2 separate regions of the Homo sapiens genome follow, and region 1 is linked to region 2. Evidence: promoter capture Hi-C in 16 types of primary human blood cells and fetal thymus (Javierre and others, 2016). All regions are on one chromosome and are shown on one strand. The core of a region is centred on a gene start or on the middle of the fragment in contact, and the rest is flanking DNA. Distances in the headings are between cores, read along the strand shown. Region 1 holds the start of ZNF292 (zinc finger protein 292). Region 2 holds the start of PM20D2 (peptidase M20 domain containing 2).

The links. The method cuts DNA at HindIII sites, captures the fragments that hold promoters and counts their contacts. A CHiCAGO score of 5 or more calls a contact.
Region 1: a fragment that was not itself captured here is called in contact with the fragment with the promoter of PM20D2 in region 2 in 2 of 17 cell types (total B cells and fetal thymus); the score reaches 6.2 in total B cells.

The regions. Positions count from the first base shown.
Region 1 is chr6:87,152,644-87,158,492 of GRCh38, forward strand. It overlaps ZNF292 (zinc finger protein 292), which reads left to right and starts at 2,922. Exons shown (of 8, transcript NM_015021.3): 1 at 2,922-3,116. The coding sequence starts at 2,949. LOC124901355 (translation initiation factor IF-2-like) reads right to left here and starts at 2,604. Exons shown (of 2, transcript XM_047419630.1): 1 at 2,333-2,604; 2 at 1-659. RefSeq lists enhancers at 2,460-2,619, 2,890-3,229, 3,741-4,348. The HindIII fragment of the contact is 3,192 bases long and covers 599-3,790 here.
Region 2 is chr6:89,142,533-89,148,465 of GRCh38, forward strand. It overlaps PM20D2 (peptidase M20 domain containing 2), which reads left to right and starts at 3,523. Exons shown (of 7, transcript NM_001010853.3): 1 at 3,523-4,077. The coding sequence starts at 3,613. LOC101929004 (a long non-coding RNA gene) reads right to left here and starts at 4,334. Exons shown (of 4, transcript XR_942766.4): 1 at 3,161-4,334; 2 at 1,215-1,301. RefSeq lists a silencer at 3,340-4,269. The HindIII fragment of the contact is 3,355 bases long and covers 2,582-5,933 here.

The sequences.
Region 1 (5,849 bases), core at 945-3,444, 2.0 Mb before region 2:
TAGGGATCTAAATTTGTCTCCCAGATTTTCTCTGAAATCGAGTCTCTTGGGAGTGAAGGTCCATATGATTACACCACGTCCTTAGCAGTCGCGTTGTGTTCAAAATGGGCATGGGTGCTCGCGGCGCGGATACTGAGTTCCCCAGAGACGCGGAGTCTTTTGCCCCAGGGGCTTATTCTTGTTTTCTCAATGGAACAGGTCTTCGAATCTCCCCAGGAACATCTCAGTAAGTAGGGGTGTGCGTGTTTGTGTGTGTGTCAGTGTGTGTGTGTAAATGGTTCCTATGAGCTGACAGTTTGGTATTTAAAGAACAAATGGACATAAGCACAGAAGTCATGACTTTTCTATGGATAAGATTGAGATTTCTGAGATTTCCAAGACAAGGTTGACCTGTCACGGGATAGTATTTTCAATCCTTCTCATTAAAAAAAAAAAAAAAAAAAAAAGCCTGCACTTATGTAGAGATTCGTTGGACATTCTTGTTAGTATCTGAGATTACTTTGATGTTCTAAGTTGAATACAGGCATGCATTTTCATAATAGAACATTTGTCATATCGTATGTATTCCCATTGCAGATCATTTTCCCACAAAACTGTAAGCTTCTTCAAGGCAGGAAGAGCTTTTATTCGCCTCTGACTTGTCCCAAACCAAGTAGTGCCTGCAAATATCAAGTACACAATAAATGAGTGTTAATTACACCACTCACCCCCAATCCTTACATTTCCTGTAGGCTCTAAATATTTCTATGTGTGTGCAAAGGAGAAGAAATGGAGGAATGTGGACATAGGGTTCACAGATACTAAATAAACATAAAGACATGGCCATCCATGCTGATGGACATTTACCAGATAGTAATGGTGCTCAGAATCAATTTGCTAATCAAGTCTCCATAGTTTTAGGGTTGTTATGTGCAAGAGGTAGGAATGACCTACATTATCAGGCAATTCTCTTAAAAATCAATATCTGGATATATATGTCTCCCACCCCTCAACCCCCATTTTTTCTTTCTTTCTATAGATTAGGTGTGGTGTAAACCATTATACTTGAAGTGGAAATGAGCTTGCTAACCTGTGATACCTTACCTTGGATTTACGGGTACATTTGGCTAACCTCATATTTCCCTTTTTGCATTTTTTCACTGGAATCCTAAGATAACATAAACTGGTGAAACCTGGTTTGGGTATCTAAAATACTTAACTTGGGAAAGTGAACTGAAAATATTAAAAATCATTAGCTGCCTTAATTGTTCCTTTTTCAACTCAGTGATACTATTATATCCTCTCTTCTCAGCCTTTGAATGTACTTCCCAGTCTCTTCCATGAGTAAACATTTGAAGATTAAACATTTGAAGATTCTACCTTGTTAATATGTAATATTAACTGATACTGTTTTTCATAAGGGGTTTAACTGTGCCTGGTCACCTTATATAATGCCGCTTTAAAAACATCACCATCACTGATGCGTTATAAAACATTTATTCTGGACAACATAGTATGTAGAACACTTTCCATTAATTACTAGAAATCTTTTGAAGAGGACGCTGCCCACAATGGGAAGTATTTTTATTTTAGATCCTTGTACTAAAAAAATATACTTCACTCAGAGTAAATGAAAAGACTGGGTGCCTCATCAATATCATTGTTTCTAAATTTCTGTAGACTATTCAGTTGCAAGAGAGATAGGTCTTTTGTCTAATGCTCTAACGGTAAAAAAAATATTAGTTTTATTAAGAACTTTAGGGTTAAGCTCTTGGATTTTTGTAGCACCTCTTCTACTCTTTTGTTCAAGTGCCAAGTATTAATTCTTTTCAGCTTGTAAGTAAAATGTGGTTCAGAATGCTACCTCTATTTGTAGCATTAGGAAAAAAAAATGCTGTAGATATTTATAATAATTCTCGACAATATTGTTTTATTTTAGCATCAATTTCCTCTCCTCCGTTATGATTTTTAATGGAGTCCTTATTGGTGTTTTTTTTTTCCTTGACCTACTTTCTTTTCAATAGCTTTCATATATAGCCTGTTGTCATTGTTGGTGATTTCTGTAGAGTGTAGTAGAGTCTAAATCACGGTGAAACAGAGTAGTTAGTTATCACTTATTCTAGAAATGTTTTCGTGGTTTAAAAGTCATCTGGTCTGTTCATATTCTGACTTCTTTTAAACTATGCTTTTCATGAATTTGCTCCGTTCTCCAGACTGAGGATTGAACCTCATTCTGCTCTGACCCAATTGTTCTTTTCCTTTGTTGCCTCCACCCCCTAGAGAATGTGTTTCCAGGGGACAGGCGTTCTTGGTGCTGAAGAGGAGGAGAGTCAAGTGAGACGAGATCTGGTACCTCACGCACTAGATCCCTCCTCTCCGGCCTGGTGAGAAGTCAGAGACAATTTTGACAGTTCATAGTCCTGCCTTGGCTCTCACGCTTGCGGTCCATGGGCGGGTTTTACCTTCTCTCTCTTCCTCTGCTTCTGGCCTGCTTACAGGCCAACAGCAAATGCAGCCATTGCCCGAGACCACTCAGAACTCTCCCTGTGCCATCCTCTTGGGGAACAGGAGGATATGTCCGTAGAAGACTTCGTGGACTGGGGAAAGCCACGCCGGGATCGGGACGCCGGAGAGGGTCGCCCCTCCCTAGGCTTTTTCCCGTCGCGGCGCCCACGTGACCGAGAGCAGGCCTTCACCAGCCCGCCCCTTTCGGCCGCTGCTGCCCACTTCCCGCTCGGGGTAAGTAAACCGCCGTTTTCCGCACCGCCCCAACCCCGCCCTTCTCCTTTCCCCTTGCCTTCACCTCCCTCGGGCTCTCTCGCGCCACTCTCCCCACCCCCATATCTTCCCCATCGGGCCCTTTGTACGTGCTCGGCGCCGTGCAAGCGCGCCCGGCACGTGACCCCGCCGAACGTGGCATTGTGTTATCACGTGACCCAGGTGCGTACGCGACGGAGCGGGGTGTGAAGATGGCGGACGAAGAGGCCGAGCAGGAGAGGTTGAGTTGCGGCGAAGGCGGCTGCGTCGCGGAGCTGCAGCGCCTGGGCGAGCGGCTCCAGGAGCTGGAGCTACAGCTGCGGGAGAGCCGGGTACCGGCCGTGGAAGCGGCCACCGACTACTGTCAGCAGCTGTGCCAGGTGAGGGCGCCCGGTGGTCCCCTCCCCCTTTCCCCAGCTAGAGGGGGAAGAGGGCGAGCGAGCGCTAGGCGGCCGAGAGGTGGTCGCCGCTTCCTTGGCATCATCGGCGCCTCCGCCTGGGTGGGAGCGGGAGTAGAAGGAAGGCGCCTTTGTGTGGCTGCAGTTGTGGCGGTTGTTGTCGTCTGCAGCTCCTGGCTGGGGGAAGGGAGTTGCGGTCAAGGCGGAAAATCCCCCCTCCCCTTTCCTTCCCTGAACTCGGGACTGCGCGGTCCCCGCGGCTGAGGAAATGTACACGGTGCGGATTGGAGAGAGTAGGAGAATGGAGGCCAGGTTCTCTTCCTCCTCCTCCTTTTATTGTGCACTGGGGATTACCGCGCCTCCCGCCTCTGCGCCTCTGCTTCCCACTCCGACGGGCCTCCGCCCCCACTGGTTTGATTCCTTTGCCTTCCCCTGCTTTCATCCGTCCCGCCCCCCAGCCCCGGCCCTGTCCTGGCTGTCTCCGGGCCTTTGTTGTTCGAGTTTCGCCTTAGGACTGAAGGGGCCTTTGTTGATGTTCGGAGGAGCAGTCCCCGCCGACCCCTTCTAGTTGAGCTAGACGTTCGGGAGGGGGTGCTTGGCGGAGGTTGTCCCCTCCTGCCCATACTTGCTTGCTTGGTGCATCACTTCTGTGGTAAAGCTTTATCTCCTTAGTGTAGAGGAGCTGTGCCTGTACATCTGTCTCAGGTTGAGTGTCCTTTTGGGGCGGTTTTTCCAGAGTCCGTTTCTCATTTGCTTTCGCCCTTCGAGGAGTATGATTTCCACTATCCTTTCTGTCCCGATCACCCCCTCACCCCTGTTTCTTGGAGTCCTTCCTATTTGGCTTCCTGATGAAGTGGGAGAAGACTGAGGTTCATGTGGATCTGTGCTTTGGGTAGTTTCAAATCTTTTCTTTGCTTGCCCAAGGGCACTGCTCACCAGTGACTGCATTCTAACCAGAATTTGGAATGTTAATAACACTGTTTGCTAGTGATGAAAATCATTTCATCCATGGTGAAAATCGGAGAGTTTGGGACTACATTTGCACTTCATTACGAGCCTTACACTTAGGTTTAAAATTTCAAGGTAGTGTTGCTGGCTCTGGTGAAGACTTTGATTTGATTGTCTTGAGGAGGAAAAAGAAGACACAATTTACACAGGTCATATTTAGAGTTAACTTGTGAGTGTATCATTACAGAGAATTCGTTTTGGAAAAATACTGATCTTAACGTAGAACAATGGTTGACCATTTTAGCTGAGTAGATTACATTTTCACTTATTTTTTAGCTTCCAAATATTGAAATATTTTCTTTATTATGTCGGGGATACGTGATCACATACAAAAGAATCTCCGTTGCTGTATGCACTTTATTGTCACAAATTATTTGATGGCTGTTCATAATCTTAAAAACAAAAACTGTGAGATCAAGTGGTGACGTCTAGGAGGATGTGCAATGTGAAAGCTCCCTACTTAGGTAAATAGGTCTGGTGAGTACCTGTGGCAAAATTAAAGTCTCATTCCTTTGAATTTTAATATTTAAAAATTGTTGAAATTTCTCAGTTTCTCTACTTTGCAGTACCCACTCATTCTTAATTGGTCTTTAAAGATTTATTTTAGAGATAAAAAAATTTCTCTAAGATACCCATAATAGGAAGTATTTCATTTGTAAGTCGAATCAGTTTTTATATAATAATCAGTGAAAACTATTAAAGTCTAGCTTTGCTGAAAGACATTTTCCCCTAATAGTGTCCACTGATAGTTTTAAGGCTAATTACTGTAAATTCTTTTTTTGTCAGCAGTATTTGTAAGCAGGATTAATAATTCTGGGAAAATAGAATCTCATGCAAGCTGGACTCCCCCCCGCTTTTTTGTGAGTGTGTGACGTTGTAAAGTTATCACTTAAAGATTTTTATTTATTTATTTATTTTTGAGATATGGAGTCTTGCTCTGTCACCCGGGCTGGAGTGCAGTGGTGCGATCTCAGCTCACTGCAGCCTCCATCTCCTGGGTTCAAGCGATTTTCCTGCCTCAGCTTCCCAAGTAACTGGGACTACAGGCGTGCGCCACCAAGCCCAGCTAATTTTTGTGTTTTTAGTAGAGATGAGGTTTGGGGTTTCACTGTATGTCGGCCAGGCTGGTCTCGAACTGCTGGTCTCGAACTGCTGACCTCAAGTGATCCACCCACCTCTGTTTCCCAAAGTGCTGGGATTACAGGTGTGAGCACCGCGTCCCGCCAGACTTGAGTTTTTTAATGAGTGAAACAGCATTTTAAAAATCAGAATGAAAGTAATTTCCTATATCAGTTTCATTAAGTGATTAGTCTTGCCACATAAATTGTTATTGATGCTACTGACAAAAAAACATCAAACACTAATGAAACAAATGCTGGATTTGTGGATTTCAAAAATTATAAAATATTTCATACACTGTAAGCTCAGAATAATTTAAATACACTTAAAAGTAATCTCCATTTGAAACGATACAGAGTGTGTCTGATTTCCTCTGGAACATTTTCTGGGGTGGGGTTTTTTGTTTTGTTTCTCAGGTAACCTATTTATGTTAGTGATCTTGTCAAGTGGAGGTAACTTGAAACAATTGTTTATTTATGTTTATTTACAGGGGTGGAGGTGGCTCACACCTGTAATCCCAGCAGTTTGGGAGGCCGAGTTGGGCGGATCGCTTGAGCCTGAGCAGCATGGCGTGGCCCCTTCTCTACA
Region 2 (5,933 bases), core at 2,273-4,772:
GCACTTTTGGAAATATCATATATTTTGAAGGTATTATAAGTTTGATTTTTTTGGTGAAATATCTGCACTCTCTCCTTGGATTAAATCATTTTTGCACTTTTTATTCCTTTCCCCCACAATTATTATTATTATTATTATTTTTTGAGACGGAGTCTCGCTCTGTCACCCAGGCTGGAGTGCAGTGACGCGATCTCGGCTCACTGCAAGCTCCACCTCCCGGGTTCACGCCATTCTCCTGCCTCAGCCTCCCGAATAGCTGGGACTACAGGTGCGTGCCACCACGCCCGGCTAATTTTTTGTATTTTTTAGTAGAGACGGGGTTTCACCATGTTAGCCAGGATGGTCTCCATCTCCTGACCTCGTGAACCACCCACCTCGGCCTCCCAGAGTGCTGGGATTACAGGTGTGCGCCACCGCGCCCGGCCCCCCACAATTATTTTTGTTTGTTTGCTTTTCATTCCTGAAATCCTGCACTGAAGCTCTCTGGTACTTCTATTTACTTTTTCTCTACCTTTAATTTTCTTCATTTTATTTTTCATTCCATTCCTTTTTCTGTTTTCAAAAACTTTTTTTTCTCATTTAGCTCATGCTTTGCCATGAGCTCATGCTTTGCCATGTTGGGGATTTTATTTTATTATTTCTATCTTAATTCAAAGAATATAAACCATACAAAAGCCTGCTGCCTTTTCAAAAGGAGTTCTGAATCTGAAGCCCAAAATAATACCCAGTATAGTTGTACAATTTGGCTGTATTTTAGTTGCTTTTCCAGGGTAAAGGAAATTTTTGATCTACTCTTTCCACCACAGCACTCATTTGTCATGAATGTCCTGTTCTCAAAGTTATTGAGTCAGTTGTGATGACAGCTGGTTTTCTAAGCAGCCAGGAAAGAAGAGGAATCTTTATATATTTTTTCCCCTTTTTTCTCATCAGGAGCCAAGAAAGAACATTTATATACTTTAAAACCAGTCCTCAAGAGAGAACTATCTGCACTCCTCTCACCCCCCCAAAAAGGTTATACATCTTAATACTAAATTCTGGATATTGTATTGTTTCCTCAGATCCAGCACCAGCTAAAGGAAGGGAGCTTGTATACATTTTTTTTTGTTTCTAATAAAAACATACAGGTTCCTTACCAGTAGCACATAGATAGGGTAGACAGTTGTATGAATATTATGGGTACAAATGAAAGTAATAGTAAGAATTTATGAGCTGACCAGATTCTAGAAAGCCACATGTCCAACTCCATCAGCTTCCAGAAGCAATTCTTCCTGCCCCCAGCTCCACATAAAGGACTGAGAAGTCTAGGAAGAAGCATAACAATGTCTATTGGTAGTCAGTGTCGTTTAATGGTTAATTGCTGCCATTATTCAGTTAGTTTATTAGATTCAAGAAGAATAATCAGCCAACAAATATTTATTAACACAGAGGAAATGCTGACCATAAGATGTTAGGTGCTGGGGAATGCAGTGGGAAAACAAAAGAGTTTAAAGCCTGGAGGGGAAGATAAACGGTCAGCAAGTTATCACAGTTTATCAAATAAATGAATTCAAGGGTGCAAAATACCATGAGCAAGAAATACAAGGTGTCAACAGTAGAAACTGAATACATACGTGCCTGTGGGCATGTATACCCACCCACCCACCCACATATATACACAAGGAACAGAGCTTGAAATGAATCTGTCTTTCCTCTACCTCAAGTGGCAGCTTTGTTAATTCCTGCAAAGCAATATAAATAGCAGCTTCTATATGAAATTATATGCATCCCTTTTCTGTTGCTGTTTATTGATGCCTGAGGAGGGCAAACATGGGTTCTACTGATGTCAGCAGGCAGAGTTGCTGCAGTAAAATTTATTCAAAATGAGTGTTGTGGGTTCTGATTTGAATAGATAAACTGGAGATGCATTTATGAATTTGCATGTCTGTTTACACAAGCAATAGACCATGGTGGCTGAAAGTCAGCCACTGGAGGCTGACTCTGGCTTCTGTTCTACAGTGGGTCCACTACTTACTAGCTCTATAATCTTGGACATACATCTGTAAAATGAAGATAAATAACCACATTAACCACCTCATAGTTTGCTGTGAGGATTAAATGAGTTAACAAATGCTAAGCCCTTGGAACAGTGCCTAGCACAGAGTAATTGCTCTACAAATGTCACCTATTGCTTTTGCTCTCCAATCCCCCCTTCTCCCCTTTTTTTAGCCAACTAACTGAGCAGGATAATATTGGATCTCGTGGATACAGGGTAATTTTCTTCAGCAGAATACCAGAGAAAGATTTATTATCGCCAAGGGGGCCCAGGAATTTAATAACACATTTGTTGTTTTTAGAGCTGAGTTTTTGTTGGAGTGTTAACTGAGAAAGAAAGTTTTCAGACGTGAATGGAATGTGACATTTACTCTGGTATTATTAGCATATAGAGTAGTAAAAACAGTAGTTGATAGTCTTCGTGCATGTTAGCTTCCCTTAGACTTATTTTCAAAATATTCATTTGGTTTATCACATTAATATATTGTGTCCCATTTAACATAGTTGAGACAAATTAAGGAAAGATGATAGGGTATGAAGAGCTGATAGAAGCTTTTAATATGTGGAAAACCTCAGAATATAAACATCTACAGTGTTATTAATAGGCATACCGTCAACAACAGTTTTTCAGACTTTGTGGTTCACTCTGGAGAAAAACAAGAGCATGACATCTTGAATTTCTTCACTGGGTAATTAAAAAACTCAGTTATAATGTAACACCAGCTGCACATATCATGTTAGTGGAGTTCAGCATCAATTAAAATTATAAACGAAACCTGTCATATGTTCCCTTTCAAAGCTGTTCAAGACAACTGTCCAAATCAACAAAACAGTATGAATATTTACTACCATAAATCTTTTAACTCTTTGGTTTTAACTCATTTCAAATTTTTAGTTCTACTCTATTCAAATAAATTATTATATAATAGCTAATACATACCAAGAGCTTACTGCATAATCTAGCTGCTGTTCCAGACATTAGTAACCAATGAGAAAACTGTAGAGAGTAGCTGCAGCTTTTAGTAATACAATGTCAAGGAGAAGAAAGTGGGGGCAGTACCGAAACTTACGTACAGTACCGTCGTTAGTACAGCATTGACACTGACGGCCTCCTTCAGGAAATACAAACCTTGTGAGGTTTTAATTACTAATGCTACAGAGTGGCGTTTTTCCGAGGACTGTGTTCCACTTGGTCTGTCTCTGATGGCTATTAACTAATAACCGTTCTCATTCTGCTGCTGTGGGAAATAAGCAACAACGGAAAAGTAATCGATAATCTTAGAGCATAACTCAAAGGCCAGAGCAGCCAAGGAGGTGGAAGAGTCCCGAGCCCTGCCTTCTCCACAGCACCCCCAAAACCCCACGGCGGGGCAGAGCGCCTGGTAGGGTACGAGCGGCCGCCAGCGTTTCCCGCGCGGCGCCGGGGGCGGCCCCGGGACTGGGGGTGGTGCCCTGGGAGCTGTGTGGCCGCGTGCGCGCTCCGCCGGGGTCCTGGAGGCCTCTGGGCGCGTGCGCGGGCGGTCGCTACCTGCGGCCGAGCCAGGGAGCGAGAGGGCGCAGAGGGCAGCGGGCTTGGGCAGCATGAGGCCCGGAGGGGAGCGGCCCGTGGAAGGGGGCGCGTGCAATGGCCGCTCCGAGCTGGAGCTACTGAAGCTGCGCTCGGCGGAGTGCATCGACGAGGCGGCCGAGCGGCTGGGGGCCCTGAGCCGCGCGATCTGGAGCCAGCCCGAGCTGGCCTACGAGGAGCACCATGCCCACCGCGTGCTGACGCACTTCTTCGAGCGGGAGCCGCCCGCGGCCTCCTGGGCAGTGCAGCCGCACTACCAGCTGCCCACGGCCTTCCGCGCCGAGTGGGAGCCGCCGGAGGCCCGGGCACCGAGCGCCACGCCACGCCCGCTGCACCTGGGCTTCCTCTGCGAGTACGACGCGCTGCCCGGCATCGGCCACGCCTGCGGCCACAACCTCATCGCTGAGGTCGGGGCGGCGGCCGCGCTGGGCGTGAGGGGGGCCTTAGAGGGCCTCCCCAGGCCGCCTCCGCCCGTGAAGGTGAGGTGGGGCCCGGGTGCGGGACCCTATCCGACTGCCCGGGTCGGGGGCGACCCGGGAAGGGCGGGACTCTCGTGCGTCCCGCGCGCCTCGGTGCCCTCCCGCCCGGGGCAGGTGTGTGTGGGACCGCGCTAAACCTGCGGTCCTCGCCTCGGCGCAGGAGCAGAGCTGAACCCCCAGTCAAAGTCAGTTCGCGTTGCCGACCTGGCGACATCTTGCAGATTATTGTTTCCTCCTCTCTAGTTATAAACAGCTCTGCTGAGTTGTTCCCTTAGGAAAGAACTTACACCCAAGCCTGGTGTTTGTTACGGGTTATTTTTGGTAACTGAGAGAGGCAACAGCAATTTGCTGACAAGGTTGTGCCATCAATCTCAGGAGGAAATAACTTCTTGTAGGTAATCCTACGGCCCCTTTTTATTCGTCTCCAAATAAATCTTTTGTTTGTGGCAGTCCTAGAAAATGTGATTCAAGTCATTGGTATTTGGATAGGAATTTTCAGTCGCTAGAACCACCAGACCCCTAGAAGTATACAAATAAAGGGGAAGTGAATGAGCATTATACATAGATGAGTTCATCCTTAAGTCTTAATTTTTTTGTTTTATGATTTTAAGAAATACCTCGACTCTTTAAACAGGGAAATGTCGTTTATGTTTGTCGTAGGGCAAGTTTAATCCTGTTTTACTCTGCTTTTCCAGATGGTATATTCTACACTATGAGCTAAGATTCAATCGTCATTCAGTTAAGGGGAAAACAAATGTTTTATTTTCATACTCTTTAGTTCATTTCCCCCAGTGTCAGTAACCTTCCTCTTTTATCCTAACACTACATCTTTTGTGGCTTTTTCACTTTAGCTGCCTTCTTTTTTCTGTCTCTGGAGGCTCGTTTTTGCATTTGTTAGGTTTTTGTTTGGGTTGGGGGAAGCATGCTTTGCCATGTCACAAACACTGGAGAGATTTCGCTTCAACCACGTTTTTAAAGGTTCTGAGTAGTCAGCGAGAGACATATCGTATTTAATGAGTTAAGGGTCAAGAATGAAGAGCGGTGGGCAGATCAGTTGAGGTCTGGAGTTCGAGACCCGCCTGGCCAACATGGTGAAACCTCTGTCTCTACTAAAATATATTAAAAAAAAAAAAATTAGCTGGGCGTGGTGGCTCACGCCTGTAATCCCAGCTACTCGGGAGGCTGAGGCAGGAGAATCGCTTGAACCCAGGAGGCAGAGGTTGCAGTGAGCCGACATCGCGCCACTGCACTCCATCCTGGGCAACAGAGCGAGGCCTCCTCTTAAAAAAAAAAAGAGCGGCGGCTTCATGTCAGAGTTTGAGCACTGTAGAACCGCCAAAAAAAAGCTAAACTTTGAGAAATGTACACTCTTTTTTTTTTTTTTTTTTTTTTGAGACAGTCTCATTCTGTCGCCCAGGCCGAGTGCAGTGGTCCTATCTCGGCTCACTACAACCTCCGCCTCCCGGGTTCAGGCGATCCTCGTGCTTCAGCCTCCTGAGCTGGGATTACAGGTGTGTGCCACCACGCCCAGCTAATTTTTGCATTTTTTAGTAGAGACAGGATTTCGCCATGTTGGCCTGGCTGGTATCGAACTCCGGATCTCGGGTGATTCGCCCACCTCGGCCTCCCACAGTGCTAGGATTACAGGCATGAGTCACCGCTCCCGGCCCACTCTTCTAACTTCAAATGGTTGTTCTCAATTTTAGCAAGGTTAAGTTATTAATTATCTGAAAATGGAATTTAAGTTGATTTCCTTTGCAAGCCAAGACTTTTCCAGCTTGTTTCATTGTGTTCTTATACATGATCTTGAAAATATATTAGTTGTTTATTTTGATTTTTAAAATTGTTTGAAGCAG